5 separate regions of the Homo sapiens genome follow, and all the other regions are linked to region 3. Evidence: promoter capture Hi-C in 16 types of primary human blood cells and fetal thymus (Javierre and others, 2016). All regions are on one chromosome and are shown on one strand. The core of a region is centred on a gene start or on the middle of the fragment in contact, and the rest is flanking DNA. Distances in the headings are between cores, read along the strand shown. Region 1 holds the start of ZNF582 (zinc finger protein 582). Region 2 holds the start of GALP (galanin like peptide). Region 3 holds the start of USP29 (ubiquitin specific peptidase 29). Region 4 has its middle 14 kb from the start of ZNF135. Region 5 overlaps ZSCAN1 (zinc finger and SCAN domain containing 1).

The links. Contacts are between HindIII fragments. The CHiCAGO score rates a contact against its expected background, and 5 or more counts as called.
Region 1: the fragment with the promoter of ZNF582 here is called in contact with the fragment with the promoter of USP29 in region 3 in 6 of 17 cell types (fetal thymus, erythroblasts, naive CD8 T cells and 3 more); the score reaches 7.4 in fetal thymus.
Region 2: a contact is called between the fragment with the promoter of GALP here and the fragment with the promoter of USP29 in region 3, in 1 of 17 cell types (total CD4 T cells). The highest score is 5.0, in total CD4 T cells.
Region 4: a contact is called between a fragment that was not itself captured here and the fragment with the promoter of USP29 in region 3, in 2 of 17 cell types (activated CD4 T cells and erythroblasts). The highest score is 9.5, in activated CD4 T cells.
Region 5: a fragment that was not itself captured here is called in contact with the fragment with the promoter of USP29 in region 3 in 1 of 17 cell types (activated CD4 T cells); the score reaches 5.6 in activated CD4 T cells.

The regions. Positions count from the first base shown.
Region 1 is chr19:56,391,935-56,396,433 of GRCh38, reverse strand. ZNF582 (zinc finger protein 582) reads left to right here and starts at 2,900. Exons shown (of 5, transcript NM_001320371.4): 1 at 2,900-3,214. ZNF582-DT (ZNF582 divergent transcript) reads right to left here and starts at 2,758. Exons shown (of 2, transcript NR_037160.1): 1 at 2,381-2,758. The HindIII fragment of the contact is 9,401 bases long and covers 1-4,499 here.
Region 2 is chr19:56,173,714-56,177,972 of GRCh38, reverse strand. GALP (galanin like peptide) reads right to left here and starts at 1,965. Exons shown (of 6, transcript NM_033106.4): 1 at 1,911-1,965; 2 at 778-903. The coding sequence starts at 864. RefSeq lists enhancers at 1,729-2,279, 2,280-2,830. The HindIII fragment of the contact is 6,092 bases long and covers 1-3,671 here.
Region 3 is chr19:57,117,697-57,122,524 of GRCh38, reverse strand. USP29 (ubiquitin specific peptidase 29) reads right to left here and starts at 2,540. Exons shown (of 4, transcript NM_020903.3): 1 at 2,296-2,540; 2 at 51-200. The HindIII fragment of the contact is 8,956 bases long and covers 1-4,828 here.
Region 4 is chr19:58,070,770-58,075,469 of GRCh38, reverse strand. No RefSeq gene overlaps it. Among named protein-coding and RNA genes, the nearest start is that of ZNF135, 14 kb to the right of the region's middle. The HindIII fragment of the contact is 1,092 bases long and covers 1,551-2,642 here.
Region 5 is chr19:58,046,910-58,051,280 of GRCh38, reverse strand. The region is part of intron 4 of ZSCAN1 (zinc finger and SCAN domain containing 1); the gene reads right to left. It also overlaps the pseudogene LETM1P2 and the pseudogene HNRNPDLP4. Among named protein-coding and RNA genes, the nearest start is that of ZNF135, 10 kb to the left of the region's middle. The HindIII fragment of the contact is 1,070 bases long and covers 2,123-3,192 here.

The DNA of each region.
Region 1 (4,499 bases), core at 1,651-4,150, 730 kb after region 3:
CATATAGAGATAGGAGCTGAGGAGACATAGTGAGAAGTGACCAGAAGACAAGAGTGCGAGCCTTCTGTTATGCCCAGACAGGGCCACCAGAGGGCTCCTTGGTCTAGCGGTGATGCCAGCATCTGGGAAGATGCCCGTTGCCAAGCGGACCGTGGTCTAGCAGTAGTGTTAGTGTCAAGGAAAAACACCTGCTACGTAGCGGACCGGGAAAGGGAGTCTCCCTTTCCCCGGGGGAGTTTAGAGAAGACTCTACTCCTCCACCACTTGTGGAGGGCCTCAGGCCCACCTGCAGTTATCCGGAGGCCTAACCGTCTCCCTGTGATGCTGTGCTTCAGTGGTCACGCTCCTAGTCCACCTTCATGTTCCATCCTGTACACCTGGCTCTGCCGTTTAGTTAGCAGTAGCAAACCAGTGAAAGTACTAAGTCTCTAATAAGTAGAAATAATGGTGTAAGCTCTCTCTCTCTTTCTCCTCTCTCTCTCTGCCTCGGCTGCCAGGCAGGAAAGGGCCCCCTGTCCAGTGGACATGTGACCCATGTGGCCTTACCTATCATTGGAGATGGCTCACACTCCTTATCCTGCCCCTTTGTCTTGTATCCAATAAATATCAGCGCAGCCTGGCATTCGGGGCCACTACCAGTCTCCGCGTCTTGGTGGTAGTGGTCCCCTGGGCCCAGCTGTCTTTTCTTTTATCTCTGTCTTGCGTCTTTATTTCTACAATCTCTCGTCTCCGCACACGGGGAGAAACCAACCGACCCTGTGGGGCTGGACCCTACAAACTCTGCATGTGCTTTGGCACAGGAATGTGTACTGGGAAGTGGCTGACAAAAGACCTATGGATTCCATGGAATGGAGAGGCTAGCTCAGAGCATTCTCATACTCTTAAAAGGAAGAAACTGGAAGCCACCCTCTAAGACGACCCTGAATGATCCCTGCCTCCTAGTACTTATACTCTTGTGTAGCCTCCACCTACTTAGACTCACAGCTGATTTTGTGACCAAGAGTATAATGGTGTATGACTTCAGAGGCTTGGTTCAGAGTCAGAAGTGGCCATTTCATCATCCTCTAAATTTCTCTTTGGCAGATTAATGAATGTGAGAAAGTAAAAATGGTATAGAAGAAAGTTAGCCTGAGAGATGGCTGGCTTTGTACCTGTTTGGTCTTTTTCCTTCCTTTCCTCCATAAGCAAATACTGACGCATGTACATATAGACACACTCAACACAGTGGGATGTTAAAGGGAAACTAGAGCCACTCGCCCCTTCCCAAGATCAGAGAACATAGGAAAGATGATGACTTTTTGCATCTACCCTCTCCTCTTGAACTCGCAACACTGTCTTGAACCACAAATAAGGTCAAGTAGGATAAATCTACAACTGTCTCCTCAACTGTCCGCTCACAAGTGTGAAATTCAACCATCCTTGCTGAAGTTGTCTTTTAATATCAGTAATCAGCAATAACCAACCTCTGAGCTTTGCTTATATTATTAAATCATTTTATTTGACCCTCAGGACAAAGCTGCAAGCCCAGCATTACATTCTTCCTTTTATGGACAAAAAAAAAAAAACAAAACAAAACCGAGATAGGCACGAAGAAACTAATAAATGGCTGAAATGCTATTTGAATCCACATCTGTCTAATTCTAAAAGTGTGCTTTCCACCACATCACCGCACCTACAAGGAAAATGCAGCCTCTACCCTCTCCTGAAGAATGTGTAAAGAGGCAATATGGTGTGTTTTGGAAAAAGCATCTTTGCAGAAAGAAAGCATTAGCTTCAGTCATATTAGCATCCTTATCCAGCAGCAGTAGCATTATTTTACATATCAGTTACTCCTCCCCAACAACTCAATGAATTAGATGCCACAATCATCCTCACTTTCAAATGTGGAGACCGAGGCACATCTCTAAGACTGGAGTTCAGGCATTCTGGCTCCAGTCTTAGAGATGGTTAAGGGTTCACACTCTTAACCATTTATTACACCATAGAGCTCACCAGGTTTGAGGGAAACAGGATCAAATCAAAAGAGTCACTCAGGACTCCAGTCCTCACTCAAGGACAAACTGTTCCACCTCGGACAGGGAGAGTTTCCGCATTCTGAGACCCAGCATAACAGGTCCTGACCGGCATCTGGCACTCGGACTCCCAATCATACTGGATCACACTGGCTCGGGATGTGTAAAGTCCAGGGCTTCTCACATTTGATGACACCAAAGCCGCCTAAAAACAAGAGAGAATTAACAACTACCTACGGCGGTCTGATATTTGCCCAAGAGATGCCGCCCCATAAAACTCCTTTACATCTTTATAACGTTTTTATTTTGCGTTCTCCTTCATAACCCACATTTAACTCACCATAGATGTAATGTTTAAAATTAGTTACCAGATAAACTCTTACGCTTCCAAACTTTAAGGTTCCTTCGAAACCTTCTGGTAAAACTGTTGTTCCACGGAAATGGGAACGTAACGGATGAGGCAATCTTCCACAGCCGCACACAGTTGTGTATCCACCGCTAAACGGTCCCAGTCATACATTCAACGACCCACGCGGAGTCAGAAGCTACCACCACACACTGTCAAAATCACGCACACACAGTGACGGCCCCTTGCCCACTCGGTCACTCGCCCACAATCTCTCGCTAGAGAATCACACGCAGATAGCACACCCAGCACCACAGACCCCAGGAAGCAACCCAGGGACTCGAACACACGAACAGCACTCCTCCGCGCACTGCGCAGGCACGCCTGCGTCCGGCTCACCCTGAAACATCGCGAGATCCGGCTTCAAGGCCGGGCTGCTGCCTTTACGCCTAAAGACTATGTTTCCCGGAAGACACTGCGGCGCCGGCCCTATCATGGCGCAGCATCGGTGTGCTTTGTGCGTCTGCGCCATCTTCCGGCTGCGCACGGCGAATCCACCGGTACCGTGGTGGAAGCGCGCCCTGGGCTGCCGGGGGCGCGGCCGCGGTGGCACTTGGACCCGAGGAGGCGGCAGGTGAGAGGTTCCGGAGCTTTCCAGGCGCTCTGGGGTCCAGCAGGAGCTGGTGCCCGGGCCGGTTGGGTCTCAGGCCTGAGAAGAACGCAGACGTCTCGCCTCATCGTCGCTCTGTGGCTTTACCGGCGTGAGACTACATTTCCCGCCGGCCCTCGCGGCGTGCGCTTTCTGGCGCCCCCTTTCTGCTTCCAGCCTCATAGCCCAGGTGCATGGACCCCTTAGGTGGGTGCGCAGGGGTCTCCGACCCCCTGAAATTGCGGATGTTTTGCATTCACTGTTATGCGTGCCTTTTTTTTTTTTTAATCTGAGAGGAAATCTTGTTTCATGAGGTTCTCAGAGAGTTACAAGACCCCAGAAGACTTAGAACCGCTAGTTTAGAAAAACTTATACTTGGGAACATTTTATATGTTCAAATTCTATGTCCAGCAATGGGGAAACACTTGAGTGGATCACAGGCCATCCTTTGTAAATAGGATATCGTGCAGTTAATACAAATAATGCTTATAAAAGTGGTCATAATAAGGAAAAGCTGCCTATTACATCATATTAAGCAACATTCATAATTATTTCACTTACACGTTACTTAGAACCAAATGTTTGTAATGCAGTAGGCACCTTATATACTCCTTTACAGAGTACTTCTTGTTTAACAGTGAGCTCAAGAACTGGTTAAATGACAACACTGCGAATACTTGGGTGTTTTTTCTTCCAATTTTTTTGTTTTGTTTTGTTTTTAGCCTGTGTGTTAGTGAGTTTGACTTCTTTTTGCTGAATGTTCTCAAAGGATTCAGTAGTTAATATCTTTGCTTGTCAGTTTTTGATAGTCATTTTTGATAGTCACTTGGCATCCCATTATATGGCTGTGCCAAAAATGATTCAACCTCTTGGCTACTTGTGGACTTGCCTACTTACGTACTAATTTTCAGTTCTCCTATTTAGCAAATATTATTGGACATGCAGCTTTGTGCACTGCTGTGTCTCTATGGAAGGACACATTTATGTGCTGATAATGGAGCACTGGGCGTGCTGTGTGTAATTTGTCTCTTACTGTTCCTTCCAACTCTATCCCATTTGTTGATGCAAGGCATGCTCCATGAAGTGGCATGCACAAAGCCTCAGTTTGGGCTGTAGAGCTTTTTGTATATTTGGCGGTTGGGAAAAGAGCCAGGTAGACTTTCAAAGGTGTTATATTTGCTGCAGGAGAGAGTTAAATGGCCTAGTCCTGGAAAGGCTTTATTCTAGGCTGGGGCTATGCAAATGATGCAGGCCTTCTATGCTCCCTGGCTTGAGGGAAGCCCTCCTTGTCCTTGAGGTAACATGTGGGTCTCAGTCACTAGAACAGCCCTCAGCATCCCTGTCTTAGACTTGCATTTGCAGCAAAACAGAACCACTGGATGTTTAGGGGAAATGGGAGGGAAAGGACCACTGGTTCCCCTTTGCCTTGCAGCAGCTAAAGCTGGTTTCCTGGGGTTGGGTGAGGATCCCTTTGCCTCCCCCTCCTTCTCAT
Region 2 (4,259 bases), core at 716-3,215, 940 kb after region 3:
CAACAGCCACCATGCTGTACCAGAGATCTAGTTTATTTCCCCTGTCTAACTGAAACTGTGTATCCCTGGACCAACATCTCTTAATTATTTAATCCTCTTGGCTAAATAATGAGAGCTGCCTGCCATCCGAGTTAACTGTTAACTCTCACAGTGCTGGAATTGGACAAAGAAGATCCACTCAGAGACCAGAGAGGTTAGGCAATGTGACTGAAGTCACACAGCTAGAAAGTCGCAGATCCCGGATTTCAAACTCAACCCAGCCTCTACAGCCCATGCTGTGGAGGTGTGTGATCAAAGGTTTTCAAAGTGTCGTCCCAGACTGGGTGCCGTGGCTGACACCTGTGATCCCAGTACTTTGGGAGGCCAAGGCGGGTGGATCACTTGAAGCCAGGAGGTCAGGAGTTCAAGACCAGCCTAGCCAACATGGTGAAACCCCATTTCTTCTTTTTTTTTTTTTTTTTTGAGATGGAGTCTCGCTCTGTCACCCAGGCTGGAGTGCAGTGGCACAATCTCGGCTCGCTGCAACCTCCGCCTGCCAGGTTCAAGCGATTCTCCTGCCTCAGCCTCCTGAGTAGCTGGGACTACAGGCACGTGCCACCATGCCCGGCTAATTTTTGTGTTTTTAGTAGAGACACGCAATATTTCTTCTCATATTTTCAGGATTTGAGCTTCTTCCCCAGGACCCTTGACACAAGCCAGAAGCATTTTTAAAAACTCTTCCCAGAGGGCAGGGATTTGGGGACACTGTTGTTTCCGAGGAACTTAGGGAGGCGTTACCCGGTGGGCAGGTGCGGATGCTGGAGTCTCTGCCAGGCTCAGCAAGAGGACGAGGAGGAGGACCAGGGGGACGGAGGGAGGAGCCATCGAAGGCAGGACGACAGGTGCCTACAGCTGCGGAACACGCTGCAAGGAGAGAGCGGCCAGTCATTTTCCGAAGCGGGGGCCAGGTGCATTTCCGATAAGGACAGAGGAATTTATTTTTTAGCTTTATGGAGGCATCATCGAGATACAAAAATGGCGCACATTTAATGTACACATCTTGAGGAGTTTGGACGTGTGCAAGCAATTAAGCCTCTCCTTCCCCCATCATCGGATCAGGCCGACCTGGTCCCCCAGCGCCCATGCCTTCTGCCCCACTGCCTCCACCACTCCATCTTCAAACCTTTCCGTCCCCTTACCTGCCCCTCACCTTTTCCCTGCCACCAATGCTGGGGTTTCTCCTGTTATCCCCATCCCTTCAAGCCCCCCATCACTCTCCCAGGAGCCCCTCACTCCCTCCACCCCTCTGCCCTCCTGGCCTAGGCTCTCACCCCAGTGCAGCTTGGATCCACCCCTCTGCCCTCCTGGCCTAGGCTCTCACCCCGGTGCAGCTGGCATCCACCCCTCTGCCCTCCTGGCCTAGGCTCTCACCCCGCTGCAGCTGGCATCCGCCCCTCTGCCCTCCTGGCCTAGGCTCTCACCCCCGTGCAGCTGGGATCCGCCCCTCTGCCCTCCTGGCCTAGGCTCTCACCCCGCTGCAGCTGGCATCCGCCCCTCTGCCCTCCTGGCCTAGGCTCTCACCCCGGTGCAGCTGGGATCCGCCCCTCTGCCCTCCTGGCCTAGGCTCTCACCCCGGTGCAGCTGGGATCCGCCCCTCTGCCCTCCTGGCCTAGGCTCTCACCCCGGTGCAGCTGGGATCCGCCCCTCTGCCCTCCTGGCCTAGGCTCTCACCCCGCTGCAGCTGGCATCCGCCCCTGTGCCCTCCTGGCCTAGGCTCTCACCCCGCTGCAGCTGGCATCCGCCCCTCTGCCCTCCTGGCCTAGGCTCTCACCCCGCTGCAGCTGGCAGCCGACCCTGTGCCCTCCTGGCCTAGGCTCTCACCCCGGTGCAGCTGGGATCCGCCCCTCTGCCCTCCTGGCCTAGGCTCTCACCCCGCTGCAGCTGGCAGCTCTCCGCAGCTCTCTCTGGCTCCTCGCTCCAGCGCCTGGACTCTTTCACGCCCCCTGAGCTTTTATGCCTTCTGAGGAGACAATAGAAGGGAGGGGGGAAAGGGAGGGGATTAGAAGAAGGGAGAGGGAGTGAAGAGGATGGAGGTGGGGGAACAGTCATCCACTCCAGGGGCTTTCAAACGCTGGTCTGTGAGGTCAAAACACACACTTCATCGCGGGAAATGCTGCTGTGCCTTGGTTTCCCCTGGTAGACCCTGCCCTTCCCCCTCCTTCTGTGCCCCTTTATCTTCCAGCTGTCCTGTTCCAGACTTTGCAGCTATTCGAGGGCTCCCTCCCTCCCTCTTATCTGCGTCTGGGCCTTGACCTGTGTCTTCCTTGGTTGTCTCCACCTGCCACTGGTGTCTCCGTAGCCCTGTCCCCTCTGCCCCCATCAATCCCTCCAAGCCTCCGCAGCTCCCTCACTGAGTTGCATTTCTTCTGTCTTGCACGGTAGACCCTGTTTATTTGTTTACTTGTGAGCTGTCTATCTCCCCGCCCCCCACCTACCACCCTGGCTAAAGGAGACCCCATGAGGGGTGTCAACTGTGTCTTGTTCATGGCTGCGTCCCTAGGCCGGAAGCTCTCAACCAGGAGTGACTCTGCCCCGATGCTGCCCCAGCCTCACCCCAGGACATGTGACCAAGTCTGGAGACAGTTTTGTTTGTTCGTTTTTTTTGTTTTTGTTTTGAGACGGAGTCTCGCACTGTCGCCCAGGCTGGAGTGCAGTGCTGTGATCTCGGCTCACTACAAGCTGTGCCTCCCGGGTTCACGCCATTCTCCTGCCTCAGCCTCCCGAGTAGCTGGGACGACAGGCGCCCGCCACCACGCCCGGCTAATTTTTTGTATTTTTAGTAGAGACAGACGGAGTTTTACTATGTTGGCCAGGCTAGTCTTGAACTCCTGACCTCGTGATCTTCCCGCCTCAGCCTCTCAAAGTGCTGGGATTACAGGCGTGAGCCACCGCGCCCGGCTGGAGACATCTTTACTTGGGACTTGGGAGGGACTCCCGGCATCTCGTGGGTGGAAGCCAGGGACGCGGCTCAGCCTCCCACAGTGCTCAGGAAAGGCCTCCCCGATGGGAAGGACCCAGCCCCGAAAGTCAATAGCTCCAAAGATGAGAAACCTCACAGCAGCCCCTAAAACAGTGCCCGGAGCTCACTCAATACTTGTTGGGTGAACGAATAAGGAGTGTGTCGTTGCTGCGTCTCTCTCCTGTCATGTGTGTTGATCTATCTGTCTCTGCAGCACGCTCTCTCTTTGCCCTGACGTCACCTGCTTTCCAGAGGAAAGAACCTTGGAAGAGGTTTTACTCTTGCTGTTGCCCTTTGCTGTCTAAGGGACAGAGGGGACGCCCTGGTCCTGGCTGGGTTCTGTCTCCTCCTCTCCACCGTGGAGGACACATTGCCTCCAAGGTCCTTCCAGCATTCTGTCGGTTTGTGGCTGGCACTTGTATCTCTGTCCTGTCTTTACACATCCCCATCAGCCCTTACCCCATCCTTTCTCATCCCAAGGGGAAAGGGAGACCCCAGGAGAGGGATGGAGTGAGAAGACGACGTGGGGGATTACAGACACCCTGGTGGGCTCCTGAGCCCCCTCCGCTGTTTCTCCAAGTCCCTCACTTCTCATCCAGAGGATGACAACAACGAGGAGGAGGAGGAGGAGGAGGAGGAGGAGTGGGCAGGGGAGGAGGAGGAGGGGGAAGCTTTTATAGAAGACAAACTGACAAGAAGGTGTGAATGGCTTTGCTGGGAAGGAGAAAGGAGGAGGGAGTGACGCCCACTGCACGGGAGACAGGACTGAGGAGGCGACGCTGAGAGCTTGAAGCTGGGTTACCTGGAGCCCAATGGAGGGTCAGAGAAACAGTGGGAAGTCCTTGCCTCACTGCCCATTAGCTAGTTTGTGAAAAGTAAACGGGGTAGGTCCAAAGCTTGCTCTATCTCTCTTACACACACACACACACACACACACACACACACACACGCAAAACTCAAATGTGGTGCAAGAAATGTCACAATGTCACTTTCTTCTCATTTCTTTCTTTTTTTTTTTTTTATTGAGATGGAGTCTCACTCCGTCACCCAGGCTGGAGTGCAGTGGCACAATCTCTTGTCACTGTAGCCTCCACCTCCTGGGTTCAAGCAATACTCCTGCCTCAGCCTCCCCAGTAGCTAGGACTACAGGTGTGTGCCACCAAGCCTGGCTAATTTTGTATTTTTAGTAGAGATGGGGTTTCACCATGTTGTTCAGACTGGTCTCGAATTCCTGACCTCAGGTGATTTGCCCTCCTCGGCC
Region 3 (4,828 bases), core at 1,291-3,790:
ACACACACACATCCCATCACCCAAACAAGCAAACCTTGAATGAAACTTACAGTTTGGAGAGCTGTTCTGGGTGAGTGGATGATAATTCTTTTTTCAGAAATGAGATCTTGCTATGTTGCCCAGGGTGGTCCCAAACTCCTGGCCTCAATCGATCCTCCAGCCTCAGCCTTCCAAAGTGCCTGGATTAGACTCCATAGCGCCTGGAGGAGAATGATGGAAGTTGAGTCTGACAGTGATTATGATGTTCCGACCTTTTATTCCCAGGTGGCTCCACCCATATCACGGGTTTTTCCAGGAAATACGTTTCTTGATTAACTTATCTCTGTGTAAGAGTTTAAAATATTTGTCTAGAAAAGGCTAGATAGTGACTTATTTTACTTTATTTCAATTGGTAATTAAAAACTTTTATTTAGAAATCATTGCAAATATACATAAGAATTGCAAGATTAGTAGAAATAACTTATATTCCCTTCACCCAAATTTACCAATTGTGTATATTTTGCCACATCTGTCTGCTTTCTCTCTCCCTCTTTTGATGTTCTATGTATCTATCTATCTATCTATCTATCTATTTTTTAATAGAGACAAGGTCTTGCTATGTTGCCCAGGTCTCGAACTCCTGACCTCCAGTAATCCACCCGCCTCAGCCTCCCAAAGTGCTGGGATTACAGGCTTGAGCCACCATGCCCAGACATGTTCAAGTCCCTTATATAACAGGATATACTTTTACTCCACTTAATGTTTACCTGTTTTCTTTGTAGTAACCGTGCTTTTTGTTTTATATATATATAATTATATATATATAACATATATGTATATATATAACATATGTAAGTACATATAACATATGTAAGTATATATAACATATGTAAGTATATATAACATATAAGCATATATAACATACATATAAGCATATATAACATATATAAGTATATATAACATACATATAAGTATATATATAACATATATAAGTATACATAGCATATATAAGTATATATAGCATATATAAGTATATATAACATATATAAGTATATATAACATATAAGTATGTATAACATGTATAAGTATATATAACATATATAAGTATATAACATAAGTATATATAACATATAAGTATGTATAACATATATAAGTATATATAACATATATAAGTATATAACATAAGTAGATATAACATATATAAGTATATATAATATATAAGTACATAACATATATAAGTATATAACATATATAAGTATATATAACATATATAAGTATATATATAACATATATATCCTACATTTTCAACACGTGTAACAAATGTGGATAGTTTCAAAAAGATCATTTTACGTTCTAGTAGTTACCCTGTTTGACCAAAGTGTAGTACTTTTATTTTTCTATTGCAGTGCATTTTCTTTTTTTTTTTTGGCGGGAGGTGAGGGAGCGGAGCGGGGATGGAGTCTCACTCTGTCACCGAGGCTGGAGTTTAATGGCGTGATCTCGGCTCACTGCAGCCTCTGCTTCCTGGGTTCAAGTGATTCTCCTGCCTAAGCCTCCTGAGTAGCTGGGATTACAGGAGCCCGCCACCACGCCTGGCTAATTTTTTGTATTTTTAGTAGAGACGGGGTTTCGCTATGTTGCCCAGGCAGTCTCGAACTCCTGATCCGCCCGCCTTGGCCTCCCAAAGTTCTGGAATTACAGGAGTGAGCCACCGTGCCCGGCCTTTTTTCTGTTTTTTTTTTTTTTTTTTTTTTTTTGAGACGGAGTCTCTCGCTCTGTCGCCCAGGCTGGAGTGCAGTGGTGTGATCTCGGCTCACTGCAACCTCCACCTCTGGGGTTCAAGTGATTCTCCTGCCTCAGCCTCCCCAGTAGCTGGGATTACAGGCACCCACCATCATGGCCAGCTAATTTTTGTATTTTTAGTAGAGACAGGGTTTCACCTTGTTGGTCAGGCTGGTCTCAAACTCCTGACCTCAGGTGATCTACCCGCCTCGGCCTCCCAAAGTGCTGGCATGACAGGCGTGAGCCACCGACCCAGCCCTTTTTTCTTTTATATAGTTTTTGAGACAGGGTCTTGCTCTGTTGCCCAGGCTGGAGTGCAGTGGTGCGATCATACCTCACTACACCCTCGATCCCCAAGGCTCAAGTCATCCTCCAACCTCTGCCTCCTGACTATCTGACACTACAGGCGTGGGTAATTTTTAAATTTTTTTGAGACATAGTCTCACTTTGTTGTCCAGGCTGGAGTGCAGTGGCATGATCTCAGCTAGCTAATTTTAAAATTTTTTGTAGAGATGGGTGGGGGGAGGGTCTCACTATGTTGCCCAGGCTGGTCTCCAACTCCTGGGCACAAGCGATCCTCCCGCCTCGGCCTCCCAAAGTGCTGGGATTACAGGCATGAGCCTGGCCAGCATTTTCTGTTTGAATGTTTTTACGTAACCGGAGTCGTCATGATGGAGGTACAGTTCCTTGGACTTCCGGCTCCCATGGCTCTGGAAATCTCAGCTCGGACCCGCCCCTTCCGGCGCCGACTCCCCTGATTCTCCTGGGAACAGAAGAGTTCTGGGCACAGCACGCTGCGTCTGCGCAGTGCCGGGCGCAGGCCTCCCGACCTACGGGTCTAGGTACGGGCTCTAGCGTGGCCGGGGCACATAGAGTTCCTGGCCTAGAGCTGGTGGGGCGTAACGGCAGGAGTTAGGGTTCAGAGAAAACCAGCCCAGGGGCGGGTTCATCCTGTTACCCATTCAGCCTCAAGCGAGGTGGGGTGTGGTAGGTGGGCTGGTGCTAGAAACCACGCCGGGAATTGTTAATAACAGTCATCCCGGCCGGGCGCGGTGGCTCACGCCTGTCATCCCAGCACTTTGGGAGGCCGAGGAGGGCGGATCACCTGAGGTCAGGAGTTTGATATTAGCCTGACCAACGTGGCGAAACCCCGTCTCTACTAAAAATACAAAAATCAGCCGGGCATGGTGGTGGGCGCCTGTAATCCCAGCTACTCGGGAGGCTGAGGCAGGAGAATCGCTTGAACCCGGGAGGCGGAGGTTGCAGTGAGCGGAGATGGCGCCACTACAATCCAGCCTGGGCGACAGAGCGAGACTCCGTCTCAAAACAACAACAAAACCCCCAAAAAAGCGGTCATCCTCCAGGTGGAAGAGACAGAAGAGAGGGTGCGGAAGAGACTTAAAAGTCTTAGGCCTTCAAGCGTGTTTGCCTCAGCCACCCGTGAATCCTACAGGAAAACTAAAACAACTCGGCCACAAGCCCCCAAGTCTTGGGGAAGCGGACGGTTTCCCAGCCGAGCTTTAGGAGGAGGCGCCGCGGGACCTCACGGGTGACGTCGTCCCCGGGGGTAGTTTGCGCAGAGGGTCGCTTTGGGCGCGCTTAGAGTCGCGTGGTGCCTGGGCCAGCGAAGCCCAGGTGCAGTCATTTGTGGCCCTGTCCCGGCGCGCGAGGGGCCAAGGCTGGTCGGGGGCCGGGTCCGCGCGGTAGCAACTGCGTCCTGCCAGCTTCCATCTCTCCCTCTGAGGGCCTGAGCGGCTGCCAGAGTCAGGTCTGCAGGCCGGGCGCTCACGCGTCTGTGCCCAGTGAGGCCCCAAGATGCTGGTGAGGCCTCGACCCTGACTGGTGTCCAGGCTCTTGACACTGTCGTGAGAAGGAATTCATGGATGAGCAGAACAAAGTGTGGAGATTCATTGCGACGGGAATAAGTACGTACTGAAGAAAGAAAAGTGCAGGCATACCACAGAGCATCACGCCCAGCGGGGTTTGGAGCTACCTTTAAATATTTATTTAACCAAGGGGTGGAATATTCATGAAGATTCTTGGAAAAAGGTAAACATTTCTTGGTACTGCGGTGCCACACATTTTTATACTAAATACGGGTGTTCCCCAGAGCTGTCACAGTGGGTGTGTGACTTAGTATGTTAATGAGCACATAATGAGAGGTCCTAGGTGAAACGGGTCGAATCCAGCACCATGTTGGGTCCAGTCGGCTTTAGCCAGCTTGGCCCACACCCTGGTTTTCAGAGTCTTATCCGCCCCTAGCTTACGCAGCGATTTCAACGGTTTCCTTTGCTAGTCATGTGAAACTGTTGCCTGGAATTTTCCGTTCTCCTGTGACCACCTTTATTATTCCTGTCTCAAGGGGCACCCCATTTGTGCCTATAAGGAGACTGCATTGGGACCAGGCTCCTGGCTGCTCATGGAGCCTCAGCCAGATGGTTGTGTGCCTGAGTCCTGTGTTCATTCCACAAACATGCAGCAAGGCTGCGTGGGTTGGAGCCCTGCCTCCAGCGCTTCCCTGCTGCATGACACTGGCAAGTTGCTTAAGCTCTCTGTACCCCATTTCCTCCTCAATAAGGCAGGGATGGTGATCGTACTAGTTCCAAAGGATTATTGTGAGAATTAACATAATACATGAGTTAACACGTATAAAATGCCTAGAACCTTGTCTTTGGATTTCCTCAAACATCCAAGGTGTTTGTACACTAAAGGAAGACACCCAACTTAATTTTCGATCTACAGACCTTGCATTATCTGCAAAATACCGCTGGCTTCTTGACACTGAAGTTATACAAATGTGCCATAATTTTCTTCACAAGTTTCTGGTGTATGTTGATGTTGCTTGAATTAAAACAACCCTGTGACAAGTGGTCTCGTGGAAGTCTTTGCACATGGTCATGCTTGTTTTCTGTGGCTGAACTTGTGGGATTACCTGAATCACCTGTAGGCAAGGTTGTCCCTGCCTCAACATGGTCCCTTCTACCCTTCACAAGACTTCAGTGTGCCCCCATGTCAGCTAAGGCAGAGATTTGGGGCTACGTTACTGGGTAGGGCATAGAGCCAACCT
Region 4 (4,700 bases), core at 847-3,346, 950 kb before region 3:
TGCACTTTGAGGGGCAGGTAATTTACCAGTTGTGTGTGTGTGTGTGTGTGTGTGTGTGTGTGTGTTTTCTCTTTTTTTTTTTTTTTTTTGAGACAGAGCCTTTCTCTGTTGCCCAGGCTACAGTGTAGTGGTGCAATCCTGGTTTAGTGCAACCTCTGCCTCCCGGGTTCAAGCAACTCTCCTGCCTCAGCCTCCCAAGTAGCTGGCAGTAAAGGCACGCACCACCACGCATGGCTAATATATATATATATATTTTTTGTATTTTTAGTAGAGACAGGATTTCACCATGTTGACCAGGCTGGTCTCAAACTGCTGACCTCAAATGATCCATCCATCTTGGCTTCCCAAAGTGCTGGGATTACAGGCATGAGCCACCACACCCAGCTTACTAGTTGTGTTTCTTTAATTGGATTGAATTTGTGTTACCTGCCATGGGGCTAAACCAAAAAGGAATGAATTGGCTCAGGTAACTGAGAAGTCCAGAGAGGCTGTGCGCAGTGGCTCATGCCTGTAATCCCAGCATTTGGGAGGCTGAGACAAGAGGATCGCTTGGGCCCAGGAGTTTGAGACCAGCCTGGGCAACATAGCAAGACCTCATCTCTAAAAAAATTTAAAAGTTAACCAGGCATGGTGGCACATGCCTGTAGTCCCACCTACTCAGGAGGCTGAGGTGGGACAGATAGATCATTTGAGCCCAGGAGGTTGAAGCTACAGCCTTCGTGACAAAGCAAAACCCTACCTCAAAAAAAAAAAAAAAAAAAAAAAAAAAAAAGTCCAGAGGACTTGGGGTTTCCCTTCTTCTTTTTTTTTTTTTTTTTTGAGGCGGAGTTTCGCTCTTGTTGCCCAGGCTGGAGTGCAATTGTGCGAACTCGGCTCACTTCAACCTCTGCCTTCCGGTTTCAAGAGATTCTCCTGCCTCAGCCTCCCTAGTAGCTGGGAGTACAGGCACGTGCCACCATGCCCGGCTAATTTTGTGTTTTTAGTAGAGACGGGGTTTCTCCATGTTGGCCAGGCTGGTCTTGAACTCTCGACCTCAGGCAATCTGCCTGCCTTGGCCTCACAAAGTGCTGGGATTACAGGCTTGAGCCACTGCGCCCAGCCTGGGGTTTCCCTTCTTGGACCATTTTGTTTCTACATAACACTTACTGTGTAATGTGCCCATAACATCCTAATTTCTCTATTTTCCATTTCCCCACCAAAATATAAGCTCCTGAGACCACGAGTTTCATCAGTTTAGTTGCCAGAGTCTGGAATTGTGCCTGAGCTATAGTTGGTGCTTGGAAAATACTTGCTGCCTGAAAGAATCTCCCTCTCACATACAGTATAAGAGGAGACTCAGGAGGGACAGTGACTACCACACGTCAGTCCTACCCAGTGCTTCCACAAAACTTCCAACGGCCCTGGCTGTGTTAGTCTGTTTACACGGCTATAAAGGAATACCTGAGGATGGGTAATTTACAAAGAAAAGAGATTTATTTGGCTCACGGTTCTGCAGGCTGTACAGGAAGCATAGTGCTGGCATCTGCACTATGGGGAGGCCTCAGGAAGCTTCCAATCATGGCGGAAGGCAAAGGGGAGCTGGTGCATCATATAGTGAGAGAGAAAACAAGAGAGAGGGGAGGAAGTGCCAGGCTCCTTTAAATAACCATCTCTTGGGTGAACTCATAAAGGGAGAACTCACTCATTACCATGAGGACAGCACTAAGCCATTCATGTGGGATCCACCCCATAGCCCACATACCTCACACTAGGCCCCACCTCCAACACTGGGGATCACATTTCAACATGAGATTTGGAGGGGACAAATATCCAAACCATCGCACCAGCTTTCCTGACTTTTTTTCAGAAACACAATGGGAAGCCAAAGGATACTTAATTCTCTACTTTCTACGATTCTTCCACTCAAGATGCATTTTTGGCTGCCAGTCACCAGAAATCCAACTCAAAATTGTATACACTTTAGGATATTATTTACTTTTTTTTTTTTTAGAAACATGGTCTGGAGTGCAGTGGTGAAACCATACCTCACTGCAGCCTCAAATACCTGGGTTCAAGTGATAGTCCTGCCTTAGCCTACTGCGTAGCTGGGAGTACAGGCACACGCTACCATGACTGGCTAATTTTTTATCTGTTGTATAGATGGGGTCTCACTATGTTGCCCAGGCTGGTCTTGAACTCCTGGGTTCGAGCAAGCCTCCCAAAGTGCTGGGATTACAGGCATGAGCCACCACGCCCAGCTGAGGTTATTATTTATTTGCTGTGAAAGACCAGGATGCAAGGTCCAGGGTGGGGCCCCTGCTTGAATTGTAGATGAGTTTGGGCTTTGCTGTCTTCTCTGAGTTGACTCTGTACAGGATGGTCCTCTCTGTGCTTGCAGGTGGTAGGCAGCATACTTCTCCCTTTGCATCCAGAAAGAGACAGAACCTTTCCTTGCTAAAGAACCAGACCTTCCTCTCAGTCTCATGGCTGCACACCCAGAAACTGTGCTCACTGTGTTAGGCCGTTCTTGTGTTACTATCAAGAAATGCCTGAGATTGAGTAATTTATAAAAAAGAGAGGTTTAACAGGCTCATAGTTCTGCAGGCTGTACAGGAAGCAGGGCACTGGCATCTGCTCAGCTTCTGGGGAGGCCTCAGGAAGCTTTTACTCATGGTGGAAGGGGAAGTAGGAGCAGACATATCACATGGCCAGAGGAGGAGCAAGAGGCAGTGTGGAGTGGAGCGGCTGCCTGCACAGTTAAAAAAACAGACCTCAGGCTGGGTGCAGTGACTTGCTCCTGTAATCCCAGCACTTTGGGAGACCAAGGCGGGTGGATCACCTGAGGTCAGGAGTTTGAGACCAGCCTGGCCAACATGGTGAAACCTTGTCTCTACTAAAAATACAAAAATTAGCCAGGCACGGTGGCACACACCTGTAATCACAGCTACTTGGGAGGCTGAGGCAGGAGAATTACTTGAGCCCAGGAGGTGGAGGCTGCAGTGAGCCTTGATCATGCCATTGCACTCCGGCCTGGGCAACAGAGCTAGACTCTGTCTCAAAAAAAAAAAAAAGGCACATTCAAGGATGACTTTATGACTTTGGTCGGCTCCACCATGTGTGGGGCCTCAGCTGGGAACTTGAAGGCTGAGGTACCTTGAAAGCTGGGAGGCTGGAATCATCTGAAGACTGTTCTGTCACAGGCCTGATGAGGCTGGGGAGATTCAGACTAGGAGTGAACTGACACCCTGAGCAGAGCCTGTGTGGCTTCATCCTCACAGCATGGTGGCCTTGGGCCAGTGGGTTTCTCAAGTGGTGTCTCAGGGCTCCAAGCACAAGTGTTCCAGCAAAAAAAGACAGACGCTGTATGGCCTTTTCTGAACTAGCCTCAGAACTCTCCCTCATTCTTATTTCACCTGCATTCACCTGTTTTCCCACTTGATCTTCTACTTGTGTGCCAATAACTGAGGCGTAGTAAGCAAGGTCCTCTAGACTCAGGAGGGTGTAACCCCCACAGTGCCCTTCCACTGGCTTGGCACCATCAGGGAGAGGAATCTCATCTCTTTCCCTGGCTTAGGAGAGAAGTGATACTGTGGGCACCTCTCTGTAGTACCCAATCCTTGCTGTATTTCCCCTGTGTCGCTGAAGGAGGTCTGATGAAGAGGGGCTGAGTGGAGAGGAAAGAACTCACATTACCGTTTCTTGGTGATTATGCCAATCTAGCACTTTCAAAGGACTGCAAAAGTGCATGTGCCAGATTCCATTTTTACTGAACTGAACTGGAATAGACTGGCCATAATCTCTTTCCTGAATGTAATGTTCTGTGATAAGAATAATATCCTAGGGAGCCTGAAATGAGTAGGCACCTGTCATTCCAATTACCTAAAGCAGCAGATCTTCCTAGCACATTTGGTTTCCTTGAGCACAAGATGCTACACAAGGATAGGAACACAGGGAAAGGCAGGAGGACACAGGTAGTAAAGGGAAGGAGGACAAAACAGCTGACCAAAGACCAAACTGTTGAGCTGCACGTGTCAAATGGGCACTTGAAATGTCGCTATGGTCAACTCTGAGATGTGATGCAAGTATAAGATGCACACTAGGCTGGGAGTGGTGGCTCACGCCTGTAATCCCAGCACTCTGGGAGGCCGAGGCGGGCGGATCACATGAGGTCAGGAGTTCGAGACCAGCCTGACCAACATGGAGAAACCCCATCTCTACTAAAACTACAAAATTAGCCAGGCGTGGTGGCACATGCCTGTAGTCCCAGGTACTCGGGAGGCTGAGGTAGGAGAATCACTTGAACCCGGGAGGCGGAGGTTGCAGTGAGCCAAGATTGTGCCATTGCACTCCAGCCTGGGTGACAGAGGGAGGCTCCGTCTCAAAAAAAAAAAAAAAAAAAAAGATGCACACTAGATTCTGAAGATGTCACGTAACAGAAAGAATGCAAATATCTCAATAATTTTTCATATTGGTATGTTAAACTGCTAACATTTGAGATATATAGGGGTAAATTTTAGTTTCACCTGTTTCTTCTTGCGTTTTCTTTCTTTTTGAGACAGTCTTGCTCTGTCACCCAGGCTAGAGTGCAGTGGTGCAATCTTGGCTCACTGACGCCTCCCAGGCTCAAGCAATTCTCGTGCCTCAGCCTCCCGAGTAGCTGGGATTACAGGTGCATGCCACTGCACCCAGCTAATTTTTGTATTTTTAGCAGAGACATGGTT
Region 5 (4,371 bases), core at 1,408-3,907, 930 kb before region 3:
GACTCCCTTTTACGCCTCTTCCTGGTACCTGGCTACTGGGGGCCATTGTGGACAGTCAGGCTCTTCCCTACTTCACCCACCTTGGCGTCTGTGACTAATCAAGGGCAGCAGAGGGGCTGCGTGGAGAGAAGAGTGGGTGGCATGTATGTGTGGAGAGAGGGGCATGCTTAGTTCCCCTGACTCTCAGGGGGCATCAGAGGAGCTATCGACACACTTGGGTCAGGCACAGAAACCAAGACATTCCCGGGGCCCTATCTGTACCTTCAAATGCAAACACATCCCCATAGCCCCGGTGAGCCACTGGCCACAGATCTGGGTTCTTATCCTTCCAGAGGTGGACCCAGGTTTATTGTTTCAGGGATGACAGGTGGGGAGATTGGAGGCGGGAGGGAGATGCATGTCACACCCTGGGAGAGTCCTGATGCAAACCAAGCAACCAAGAAAAAGAAAACAAGAATAAGGGGCCAGGCGTGGTGGCTCACGCCTGTAATCCCAGCACTTTGGGAGGCAGAAGCGGGAGGATGAAGAGGTCAGGATATCGAGACCATCTAGGCCAACATGGTGAAACCCCATCTCTACTAAAAATACAAAAATTAGCTGAGTGTGGTGGCGTGCACCTGTAGTCCCAGCTACTCGGGAGGCTGAGGCAGGAGAATCGTTTGAACCCAGGAGGCGGAGGTTGCAGTGAGCTGAGATTGCACCACTGCACTGCAGCCTGGCGACAGAGCGAGACGCCGTCTCAAACAAAACAAAATGAAACAAGAATAAAGGAGGAAATATGAATGCCTGGCAACTTACTGTTGTTGAGGAATTATCTTAATAGCTCTATTTTATTTATTTATTTAGAGACAGGGTCTCACTCTTTCGCCCAGGCTGGAGTGCAGTGGCGCAATCTTGGCTTACTGCAACCTCCACCCGCTGGGTTCAAGCGATTCTTATGCCTCAGCCTCCCGAGTAGCTGGGACTATAGGCACGTGCCACCACACCCAGCTAATTTTTGTATTTTTTGGTAGAGACGAGGCTTCACCATGCTGGCCAGCCTGGTCCTGAACTCCTGACCTCTAGTGATCCACCCACCTCGGCCTCCCAAAGTGCTGGGATTACAGGCATGAACCACCGTGTCCGGCCAGGAATTATCTTAATGGTTTTAGTTGGGGCAATGGTGCTGGGTTATTTTGGAAAAAAAAAAAAGGAAAGAGTGGAGCGACATCACCAAGATGGTGGAGTAGGAGATACCAACCTTCATTTCCCCCTCCCACTACCCACACACAAATCAACTACAGACAGATATTCACAAGCCAGAATAGCCCAGAACGCTCAAGGACCCATTGAAGATCTGCAGCAACACAGTGGAGTAAAGTGAAAAAACCCGAGAATGCCCACAAGAAAAAGCTCACCGGTGAGATAATGCATACCTGAGATGCCAGGAGATCGCTATGCACAAAGAAGAAAAGCAGGGGCCACGAGTATCAGCTACGCGGTGGGAACCACCAGGGACCCCAGCAGTGTGTTCCACAGAGGACACTGGCATCACTTACCACTGAGGTTCCAACAGTCATTCCCGCCAGGGCCTCAGGGAGATACGCCCATGGGATCTCAGGGACCTTAGAGTGCTACCCTCAAAGGGCTTCGGGCAGCTACCCTTACAGGCTTCAGGCAGCCCCTCCCCATGGGGTAATGGTGTTTCAGTCAACAATGGACCACACACACCACAGTGATCTCGTAAAATTATAATGACTCTCTTCCACCACCATTTGAAATCCAACTCCGTAGCATAAGCTGCTGCCTGACCCTGAATGTGCACCAGCACCCCCCGCCTACAACTTCTCCACCAGCAAAGACCTGAATGAGTACCACAACCAATACAGAGGAAATCGCAGAGGGATCCAAGATCTGCCGGATGATGGTACAGTGTTACAAGCAAAAAGATCTGACGATGTGTCTTGACTTAGGGAAGTTGCAGATTGCACAGTTAAAACAGTTACTGGAAGATCAAGGGGATTTGTATCTGTGCTTTTGGAAAACGCTGCTAGTGCTCTTAAGGCCTTGGAACGGAAAGAACAGGAGCTGGATGGCAAATTGATAGGATCACCCCCCACCCCTGCTGCAAAGAGCCAAAGCTTGAAAAGGGAAAGAACCCCCCGAAAGGTTTTCGTGGGTGGATTGAGCCCAGCTACTTCTGAAGAACTAACTAAAGAATATTTTGGAGGCTTTGGGGAGATTGAAAATTTTAAAGGCCAGGCACAGTGGCTCACACCTAGAATCCCACCACTTTGGGAGGCTAAGGCTGAGGCTGGAGAATTGCTTGAGAACAGGAGTTCAAGACCAGTGTAGGCAACATAGCTAAGTCCCAACTCTACAAAATTAGAAAATTACCAGGCACTGTGGCTCAAGCCTGTAATTCTAGCTGAGATGGGAGGATCACTTGAGCCTCGGTGGTCAAGGCTGCAGTGAGCTATAACTGTGCTACTGCACTCCAGTCTGGGTGACAGAGTGAGACCCCGTCTCAAAAAAAGGTAAAAAGGGCCGGCCTCGGTGGCTCACGCCATCATCCTGGCACTTTGGGAGGCCAAGGCAGGTAGATCACTTGAGGTCAGGAATTCGAGACCAGCCTGGCCAACATAATGAAACCCCATCTCTACTAAAAGTACAAAAATTAGCCAGGCATAGTGGCGTTTGTCTGTGGGGCAGGAGAATCATTTGAACCCAGGAGGTGGAGGTTGCAGTGAGCCGAGATCATGCCACGGCACTCCAGCCTGGGCAACAGAGCAAGACTCCATCTCAGAAAAAAGAAAAAGAAAGTAACATGGTCTCGCTCCATCGTCCAGCCTGGTCTCCAACTCCTGGGCTTGGCTTATCCTCCGGCCTTGGCCACCTCAAGCAGTGGGATTACAGATGAAAACTTGGCTCAAACCACATCATTTACACTTACCTACATGCCCCAGGGCAGTTAGTATACTAATTAAGAAACACAGCTTGAAACACTTGCAGGGTTAAAGCTATAAAATGTCTATACATTGATTTTTTTTGAGAATTCATAAATATTAAGGATCTAAAACAAACTTCTTTCTCAAATAATTGAAATCTGAAAGGCTTTGGAAGCCAACTGTCCCTGCACAAAGGTTTACAATTGAGAAATATCTCCTGTTCCTATTTTGTCAAGTTTCTTTAATGGCTGAACAAAAAGAAGCTTCAAGTAATGGAGAAGGCATCGTCTGAGCGCAGCTGCTTTCCTGGCTGCCTGTGCCATTCCTATGTCTTCCAAATCCTATGCTTGGAGGCCCCCGGAGGGACATTTTTACCAGGAACCAACCTGACCTTAAAAATATGAGTGTGACACAGCCGGCTGGGCAGGAGGGTGGAGGTGGCCACAGGACACTGCCTGCCCACGCCCTCGCCAGCCCGACCATGCTGCCGAGTGCAGGGAGGCCACCCCACCCAGAGGGCACAGGGTAAACCCTAAGCACTGCGGGTGTTGCCCTTGAAGCCCCAGGGGATGCCCTGTGCCTCGTCTTCGTGCCTCGGTGACCAGCCTGCTTGTTAAAGGACCCCAGGGGCCTGAGCCTGCAACACCACAAGGGGTGAGAAGGGTATGCTGCTGTGGGTGCACTGGACTCAAACCTCACATTAGAAGCTACAAAGAACCCCAAATGTGCTTCAGAGCCCCACCAACCCGAGCCAGGCTCATCCCTGACACAGTAAATCCACTGCAGCCCCCGTGGCGCGCAGCCCAAGCACCACCCAAGGGAGTCCCATGGCTAGGGCTACGTCAGAGTTGCGTGGCTTGGGTCAGAGATGGCTCTTGGGGCAGGCCGACCAGCGTGGGAAAACTCTGTGCCAATCGACTGCTTAAAGAATTGGGGGAAAATAGAAAGTTAAGAAAGAGCTCCGATACACAAGGAAAACTGCAGGTGAGAACCGGCCCTGCCAGCAGGGAGACGTCACTCTCCAGAGGCCACAGAGATGGCAGATACCTCTGTCTCCACAGTGACCCAGATCCAACTAAAAGCATGCAGGAAGACAGGTCTATTGATGCTGAAATCTAGAAAGCAAGGTCCACAGGTGAATGGAGGCATCTTCAGCCCTGAGGGGGCCAGGCTGTGTCTCCTGACGCCTCTGAGGGTGGGCGTAGCAGCCAGCTCCGTGTGGGCAGAGTCCATGTGGTCCTCATTCTCCTCCCTGGGCACAGGGCAGCACAGTCAGACACTGAGACGTGAGGCCACACACAGGGGGGCACCTTCCTGCCTTGGCCCAGCCGCCTCTGGAGCCAGGAGGCCGTGGCAGCCACACCACAGTGTGGATCCAGACAGGATTCTGTGGAGGGATTCTGGGACTCCAGACAGATTGAAGCTCCGTGGAATGATGAAAATT